Regions from separate parts of the Homo sapiens genome. Here regions 1 and 2 are each linked to region 3. The links are contacts of gene promoters, found by promoter capture Hi-C in blood cells and fetal thymus (Javierre and others, 2016). All regions are on one chromosome and are shown on one strand. The core of a region is centred on a gene start or on the middle of the fragment in contact, and the rest is flanking DNA. Distances in the headings are between cores, read along the strand shown. Region 1 has its middle 7.4 kb from the start of MORF4L2-AS1. Region 2 holds the start of FAM199X (family with sequence similarity 199, X-linked). Region 3 holds the start of BTK (Bruton tyrosine kinase).

Region 1 (2,700 bases), core at 21-2,520, 2.3 Mb after region 3:
GGCAGGCTGGTCTTGAACTCCTGACTTAGGTGATCTGCCCGCCTTGGCCTCTCAAAGTGCTGGGATTACAGGCGTGAGCTATCATGCCCAGCTGACCTGCAGTTTTTAAAACAGTGGGGTGGATCCCTGTCTCTCACCATACACAAAAATCAACAACAACAACAATAAAACAATGGGAAAGCTGCCTGAAGGCAAAGATCACACACACACACACACACACACACACACACACACACACACACACACTCTTTCAAGGACTTGGAACCTGACTGTTCCAGGTCCAACCTGAACCTGCTTGGAAAGGCGGGTTCCATAGAGTACCCATTGAAAACTATGTGGTTTTGTTCGTTCTTTGTTGTGTTTTCACTGTGTAACTAAGCAAATGACGGGGTTTGTACACTGCTGGGAGTGAGCAGATATGGTTGGAGAGGTGGGGCACTGTTTAGGGCATGGGGAAATCAGAGCACATGTTCTCTCAAGGTCCTGAGGTTGAGATAAAATGGTTTGAAACTGGGGACAGAGAAGGGAGCAAGGGCAGTTCCTAAAAGGTACAAAGCCGAGATTCACCCCGCTGCTTCCAGGCCAGAGTTCTGGGTAGGACGTCAATGAGACCCAGGCCGGTACAGCCAGCTTTCAATAGAGCTGGTCTGTGAAACTTGGCCGAGAGGACAGAGGAAGATTGATGTTTGCTCCAGAGTGGGGCTGTCAGCTGTGCTCACCACCTCACCATGCTCCCAGCTGTAAACAAAAGTCCTGGCCCTTCATGGCACTGCAGAGCAGTCCAGGCTGGCGTAAGTCTCTGAGGACAGCTAGACCATTTTCTCATCCTGGCTGAGAACCAGAAGACAGAAGAAACAATAGAAGGTGGTGGGTAGGGGTGGGCAGGATTGCAAGGGGGTGAGAATCAGTGACCAGAGGGAAGGAGCTGTCAATTTCAGATCTTAGGTTTGTGCATCCAAGTACTTAGTACAAATCTTATAGGGAAAGCAGACCCCTTTCCTTGTCAGCTTCACAGATAATAGTGAACTACCAAAGGAGGCTTGCAGGGACTCTAGTGCCTCATTCATTCATTCATTCTTTCAGTGAATACCTCATGTGCCTGTCACTGGGCTAGATACTCTGGGTGATGCCAAAGTAATACAAGACAGCTCGTAAATTCAAGGAACTTACAAGAAGTTTGTAAACGTGTAACCTTAAGTCACAATACCAATAGTAAGACTTTAAATCCTAAGTGACAGACATAGAATAAGAGTTTAGAAACGAGAGTAGTCATATCTGGTCATCATCAGAGAAAATGGAGTTTGAGAGGGCTATAGAAAGATAGACACAATTTGGCCAAGGGAAAAAAGATACCAGGCATTCCAGGCTAGGACCAAATTGTTAGTAACAATGAGGCCTGCCTTCGCGAAGGCAGAAAGTTAGTATGACACAGACTCTCTTCAGTCTTCACCCCGTCATGTTCCTCACCACAGCTAACCCAGTCTTCAAAACTCACTTAAATGTCACTTCCTCAGGGAGGCCTTCCCTGATCTCCAGGGCCAGATTAAGTACTCTTGCTTTATGTTCCCATAGCACCCATTACTTTCCCCTTTCTAAGACACCACTATTTTCACCTGATGACCTACTCATGTCTCCCTACAATTTGTTCTCCACTCTGCAGCCGGAGTTTTTTTGCAAATGCAAATCTGTTACATCACTTCCCTCTTGGAAACTCTCCTACCTCTAACATCTTCCTTCTCCTTTGCCTTCCTGGTCCTTCTTGCCTCTTTCCATCTTACTTTTCCTTCTGGTCACTTCTTAAATGTCTCTATCTAAGTTTGTCTCCCCTGCCAGAATGTCAGCCCTCTGAGGGCAGGAGTTATGTTTCTTCCTCACCATGTATCTGTGTATTTAGCACAGTGCCTGGCATATTGTGTTAGGCACTCCACAAAAATTTGTGAATAAATCCAAGGGAGATAAGGCAATATTAGTAGCCAACTGAAGGATTAATCTTACACTTCTGTGCAAAGGGAAATCTTTAAAAGTTTTTAAATAGGGGTATAAAAAAAATCATGAGAGAACCCTGCCTTCTGACAAAACAAACAGAACAAAGCAAAAAATGATCAAACAAAACCCAGAGAACTCCAACCTCAGCTTACCCTAAACCCGGCCTCCCAATGATCTTGTAGACTCATGTTCTCTTCCTTTCTGTTTCCCCCACCACTGCCTCCTCCAAAAACACAAGAAAACTTACTCATTGATCCTTCCAACCAGAGAAATTTGGCAGTATGGCCAAATACACTTACTTCCACATTTGTAGTTGTTCGTTGGGCTAGCATTTATTGCCCACCTCCATTGTTCCAAGTGCTGTGCTCATAGCTACAGATGGAGACTTTTTTCTTACCTCGATGGTGCTCACAACTGAGTGAACCCCTTACACTTACCACTCACTTCGTGACTTCAAATTTCTAGTGAAGGGCTTTGCTTTACCTGGGCTCAGTGATGGAGACTTTTCAGGGTACTGGAGCCTGCAAAAGACCTCAATTTCAGGACCATCTGTAAAACTGGGGACTCAGTGAGACTCAGAGGATGGATAAGTATATCCGTTTACACTAGACTGTTACCTTTCTGTGAGGAGGCTAAATGGCAGGGTGGTGAATATCCGGAAGGGTGGTTAGGCATCAGCCATTTCTTAACCTTATTAGGTTGGGCTTACTAAGG
Region 2 (2,700 bases), core at 167-2,666, 2.8 Mb after region 3:
GGCCCATTCAGCCTCACTGGCCTCAGACCCCTGGGGATTGGTGCATTAGGGACCATAGAACAAACCATCATCAGCCTCACTTCCACAAGTTTTAAATTGGTCAGCCTCATTAGATATTAATGAATGATTCATTTTGAAAGCCACATACACAATGCAACACACCTTCTTGCAATCTCAATGAAAGAAAGCCGGCATGCTCAACAGTCAAACAACCAAGTAACTGAAGCAAGATAATGTATACATTTTAAAGGCACGTTGGAGAAGCTGTTTTCACTATAAGTTGCATTGGTAGGGCAAGGCACAGAGTTTAATACTGAATGGGGCTTGTTTTAGTGACAACCCCCCACTTCTCCTGCCCTCTTTCTCTTCTTCCTCCTGCCTTCTTTCATTTTTCCCCTCCTTTCCGCCTATTTAAGTTCTATGCTTTCCTGAAGGATCAATGTAGTTTCTTCATAAATATAGTTAATGCAAAGAATTGCTTTTATTGAAGAATTATGCTCTTATATGAAAATGTGCTTCCTTTTATAAAATAATATTAGGTAGTTTTAAAAATTGTCTTCTTTGGGCAAAGTAAGAAATTAGTAATCTTGGGGTTTCCTCTATTTTTTTTTAATCTTACGCATCCAAGAACAGGAATCACTTGCCCAGAATATAGAGAAGAGAGATGAGATAAACAGCAAAGTACACTATATAACACCTAACAAGTTGATTCAAGTTGAACAAGTTAAGCTCCATAATATATTTTCTACGGGAGGGAGGGGGCAAATTAGCAGGTGTGCCTTAGTCTCCTTTGGGAGTCAGGGAAGGCTTCACTGAGGAGATAACGTTTGAGCTGGAGTTTGAAGGATTAGCAGGGGAGAAATGGCAGGGCATTCCAAGCAGGGTGCCTATGAGCAAAAGGCGCAAAGCACAAAAGAGTACGACGTGTCCAGCAGCTCTGAGTAGGCGAGTGGCTGCAGCGTAGGGTTCTTGGAGTTAGGTGATCAAGGGTGAGGAAGGGACTATTTTCCCTGCTTGGACGATTTCTCCTACACCTCATTGCACGGTGCTGGGCACACACTGCAGGAGCTCAATAAATACTTGTTGAATTGGGACAGAATGAAAGAGTGCGCTGGGAACCAGGGCATCTGGATGTTTTCTCACGCACCCGCAGTGTGACCTTGGCCAAGTCCCTTTTCTGGGACTGCGGTTCCTGCTTAGTAGTCGAGTACGAGTGAGAAAGCGGAGGAGGAGGTTGGCCAGAGGCGCCTAGCCTTTCTAGCGGCCTGAATCCCTGATTCGATGCGTAGAGGGCGGGGCGGGCCGCTTGGGGCCGCGGCGGGCGGAGGTTCAGTTCCTCCTCCGGTCCAGCAGGGGGCACGGGGAGTGGCTTCCCGCCGCCCTTCCCCTCCTTGCGGGCGCCGGGCAGACTGCTGCAGTCGCAAGCGGCGAGCGCAGTGGGCGGGGCGGGCCTGGCCGGGCCGGGCGGCGGCGCTGCGCTGACGGGCTGAGTCTGGCGGCGGCGGAAGCTGCAGAGGCCACCGGGGCGCTAACTGGGTGGCCGGTGGGCCGCTGTGGCCTCGAGCAGCCTCTTCGCGCGGCCCCGCACCCCGGCAAGCAGCAGCGGGCCGCGACGCCCAGCCTGCCAGTGAGCTGCGACGGGCACACCCCGGAGCGTCGGCGACTGCGGACAGGTTAGAGTGGGGGCAGGGGCGGGCGCGGGAGCAGCCCAGGGCCAGAGAGGGAGCCCGAGCCAGGCCATCTCCAACCATGTCCGACGAGGCCTCGGCCATCACTTCCTACGAGAAGTTTCTAACCCCCGAGGAGCCCTTCCCACTCCTGGGACCTCCTCGCGGGGTGGGCACCTGCCCGAGCGAGGAGCCGGGCTGCCTGGACATCAGCGACTTCGGCTGCCAGCTGTCCTCCTGCCATCGCACCGACCCGCTCCACCGCTTCCACACCAACAGGTACGAACTGCACCTGAGGGCAGGGGTGGATTTTCCACTTCTGGTCGCCCCCCGCTCCTGATCCTTCGTCCCGGGCTGCGCTTCCAGTCGCCCCCTCCCCCACCTGCTTTCGACCAGCGCTCATTCCCGGCCTCCTTCCCTGCCCCCCCTCCCTATTTTCACCCCTGCCCTCCTATTTTCCTTTCGACCGGCGTTTTACTCTCTTTTCCTCATTCATATTCTGGCTATAGCGACTCCTCCCTTCCCTACCTTCTCCCTCCCTTGCTTCCCTTCCCTCCCCCCATCTGTACCCTACGAATCCCAAACCCCCACCCTTGATTTTTAGATACGCCCCTGTTTGCATCCATCTGCAAAAGTTTAACCCCTTCCATTTCCGGTACGCTGTAGAGGAATTTGGATGGCTCAAGATCAATCCATAGATCTTTTGAAAAGTGGCGTTGAAAGGTGGAACATTTAAAGCTAGAAGCTTCATTTTCCCTATTTTTAATCTGTCTCACAGTCCTGTTCCCCCCGCCGCCACCACCCCTACCCCATTTTTTTTTTTAGTTGAGCGCTAGGAAACTAGTCGATTCTCTCTTTTTTTCCTCCTCCTTTATTAACTGTTTGCCTTAGCGCTTTAGGCTCTGCCAAAATTGGTAAGCTTAAATCTGGAGGATTCCTTCATATGACATATCCCTTGGTTTCCTTCCCCTTTGAAGAGACAGAGTAAGGCTTAGGATGGACTGACTTACACAAATTTATTCAGAGGGTGTAT
Region 3 (2,700 bases), core at 71-2,570:
TGTCTTGATTGGGGTCACCAATCACTTTTATTCTAAATGTCATATTATTTGCTCTAGGTAGGCCCTCTGGGGGACATTGGCAGGTCTGAGGCAGAGTAAAAATTATAGCAAATACTGAGATCCAGCACTTACTATTGCCAGGCCCTGTTTTAAAAGCTTTACATGTATTTGCACATTTACTGCTCACAACCACCTTATGGGGAAGGTGCTAGGCAGGCAGGGAGGAGGAAATGGAAAGGGAAAGGAAAAGGGAAAAGAGCGGGGGAAGAAAGGAGCAAGAAAAAGTCAATGCAATTCGGCAATTATTTGTTAAGTGCTAACTGTATGTCAGGGTCTGGTAATCAACAGAACAGAGGAGGGTATAATGAAGAGGGGATATAGGTAGAGAAAAGAGGATGAGTGGGAAGAGGAGGAGGTTGGAGAGGAGGAAAGGAAAGGAGAAATAATGAAGACAAGAGAAAAGCAAGCCATGCACATGGAGGGCAATGGTAAGAGGAGAAACCTTTGCCACAACCTCAAGGGTTGGCCGCACTGTCTGGGCTGAGGCAGAGGCTGCTTTCTCCTGGCCCAGTCTTTTACCCATTGTTACCACGAGGTTGGCACAGCTTCCACACAGTCCTTTAATAAGCCAGCTCTGACCCTGGCGACATTTGGCCTGGTACAGCTCAAGGCAGGTAGCCTACACCCTGGCCTAGCCAGGCCTTTCCCTAGCTCACAAAGGTCAACTTCATAACGTGGAGCGTGAGCTTTTACCATGTTCTCAGAGAATCTGCCTCTTAGTATTTCTTTTTCTAAAGGCTTCATTGACCCATGTATCCCTATTGAGTCTTCAAGCACTATTTGACAGAAGGGCTTGTTTTTATCTGACTGCTCCCTGCAATATTACTTTTCCACTAAGTTTGCCAGAGGTACCCCTTTCTAACATTTGCTACCTGTTCGGATGGTCACCTCATGTCACATTTTTCTCTTCCTGTTCCGCCCACCCTCAGCCCTTGTCGGAAAGGACCCTTTCGGCCTCTCTAATCACCAGAAGGGACTGCCAGGGCCTTGTGCTGATGACACTCCCACCCTCCGTCAGCCTCCTCCACTAGCTGATAAATGGCACCAGCCATGCTGTCTCTCTGGTTTTTAGGGGTCCCAAGCAAGGTACATTGCTGCTGCTGCCCAGCCCCTGCCATACCCCAGACCCACCTCAGTCCTGACTTAATGCAGGTAGCTTCCCAGATGCATTGAGATGCCAGGACTTGGAAGGTGGGACTCGATCGCAGCAGACACTGGCCCTGGAGACATATTCTTACAGTCCAGAGAGGAAGGACAGTCTGAGCAAACCCCACCCTTTCACAGCCACTCAGTTCCCTTTTTTTGCTTCCTGACCTAAACCAATGTCTTTTTTTCTTCTCAGCAGCATGCTATCTGGTTCCCTGCTGCCGTCCCTATTCCACCCCCTCAACTGTCCCCGCCCTTCATTTGCTTGGGACCTCTGACACTACTATCTTGAGTCTATCTTTGAAAGAACCTTTCTCAACATGACTGGGGCCACTGAGACTCTAGATGGGGCTGGCCTGAGCAGACAGGTCATCAAGCTATCCTCCCAGAGGTAAAGGGACAACATACCTAAAGTACTATGAAGACAGTCAGCACAGGGAGAGGGGCTTACAGGAAAGAGGAGAGATGCTGGGGGCTGGCAGACACAGAGCAAAGAGACTGGCCAGGAAGAGCGTTTTTCGAGTCTCCTGTCCTCCGGGGCAGAGGAGTCTCAGGGACACACAGTTGAACTTGATAGTGAAGGGACCCCAAAGGACAAAACAAGACAGAGGTAGAGACAAGACTTCCCCGTGCTGAGTCATTTTCTAAGAAAGCATTTTTCCCCTACAGATAAAAATGTCGGAATATAAGCCCACAGAAATACTTGTGCCCTTCCCCATTTTCTGTGGATGTTGACTTTCTCCATTTAAGATTTGGCCTCAGGGATTAACTCTCAATGTCCACCTTTCTCTTGAGTCCTGTAAACCGGTAAAGCAGACTAGGTATGTCACTTGAAGCCTGGAGGTTTTCTCAGGGGCCCCCTACATTATGCTCCAACTGCAATGATTCCCCCAGGGATTCTCCTAGGAAATGCAGCCAGTATTGAATGCAGACCATGATGGTGGAGCCCCTGCTGACTGATCTGCCTGCCCACCTTGACACCTCGGGCACTGCCATATTTCCTTGCCCCAAGGCACTGTATCCTAATGTAGAAACAGATCACAGGTCCCACTACAATTTCATCCGAAGTTTTAAGTCAACAGGACCTTATTTTTTTTTCTTTATTTTGTCTAAAAAACAAACAAACAAGCAAACAAAAAAAATGGGGTATATGTGCAGAAGGTGCAAGTTTGTTACATAGGTATATGTGTGACATGGTGATTTGCTGCACCTATTGACCCATCCTCTAAGATCCCTCCCCTCACCCCCAAGCCCCAACAGGCCCTGGGACCTTTTTTTTTTTTTTTTTTTTTTGAGACAGGGTCTTGCTCTGAAGCCCAGGTTGGAGTGCAGTGGCGTGATCATGGCTCACTGCAGCCTCCACCTCCTGGGCTCAAGTGATCCTCTCACCTCAGTCACCCTAGTACCTGGGACTATAGGCACACATCACTGTGCTGGGCTAATTTTTCTACTTTTTGTAGAGATGGGGTTTCACTATGTTGCCCAGGCTGGTCT

Evidence for each region. The method cuts DNA at HindIII sites, captures the fragments that hold promoters and counts their contacts. A CHiCAGO score of 5 or more calls a contact.
Region 1: a contact is called between a fragment that was not itself captured here and the fragment with the promoter of BTK in region 3, in 1 of 17 cell types (neutrophils). The highest score is 5.1, in neutrophils.
Region 2: a contact is called between the fragment with the promoter of FAM199X here and the fragment with the promoter of BTK in region 3, in 5 of 17 cell types (neutrophils, M0 macrophages, activated CD4 T cells and 2 more). The highest score is 12.1, in neutrophils.

Annotation. Positions count from the first base shown.
Region 1 is chrX:103,693,357-103,696,056 of GRCh38, forward strand. No RefSeq gene overlaps it. Among named protein-coding and RNA genes, the nearest start is that of MORF4L2-AS1, 7.4 kb to the left of the region's middle. The HindIII fragment of the contact is 4,314 bases long and covers 1-2,700 here.
Region 2 is chrX:104,165,037-104,167,736 of GRCh38, forward strand. FAM199X (family with sequence similarity 199, X-linked) reads left to right here and starts at 1,417. Exons shown (of 6, transcript NM_207318.4): 1 at 1,417-1,946. The coding sequence starts at 1,750. RefSeq lists a silencer at 1,205-1,694 and an enhancer at 1,259-1,759. The HindIII fragment of the contact is 4,401 bases long and covers 1-2,410 here.
Region 3 is chrX:101,384,871-101,387,570 of GRCh38, forward strand. It overlaps BTK (Bruton tyrosine kinase), which reads right to left and starts at 1,321. Exons shown (of 19, transcript NM_000061.3): 1 at 1,192-1,321. RefSeq lists an enhancer at 588-807. The HindIII fragment of the contact is 7,609 bases long and covers 155-2,700 here.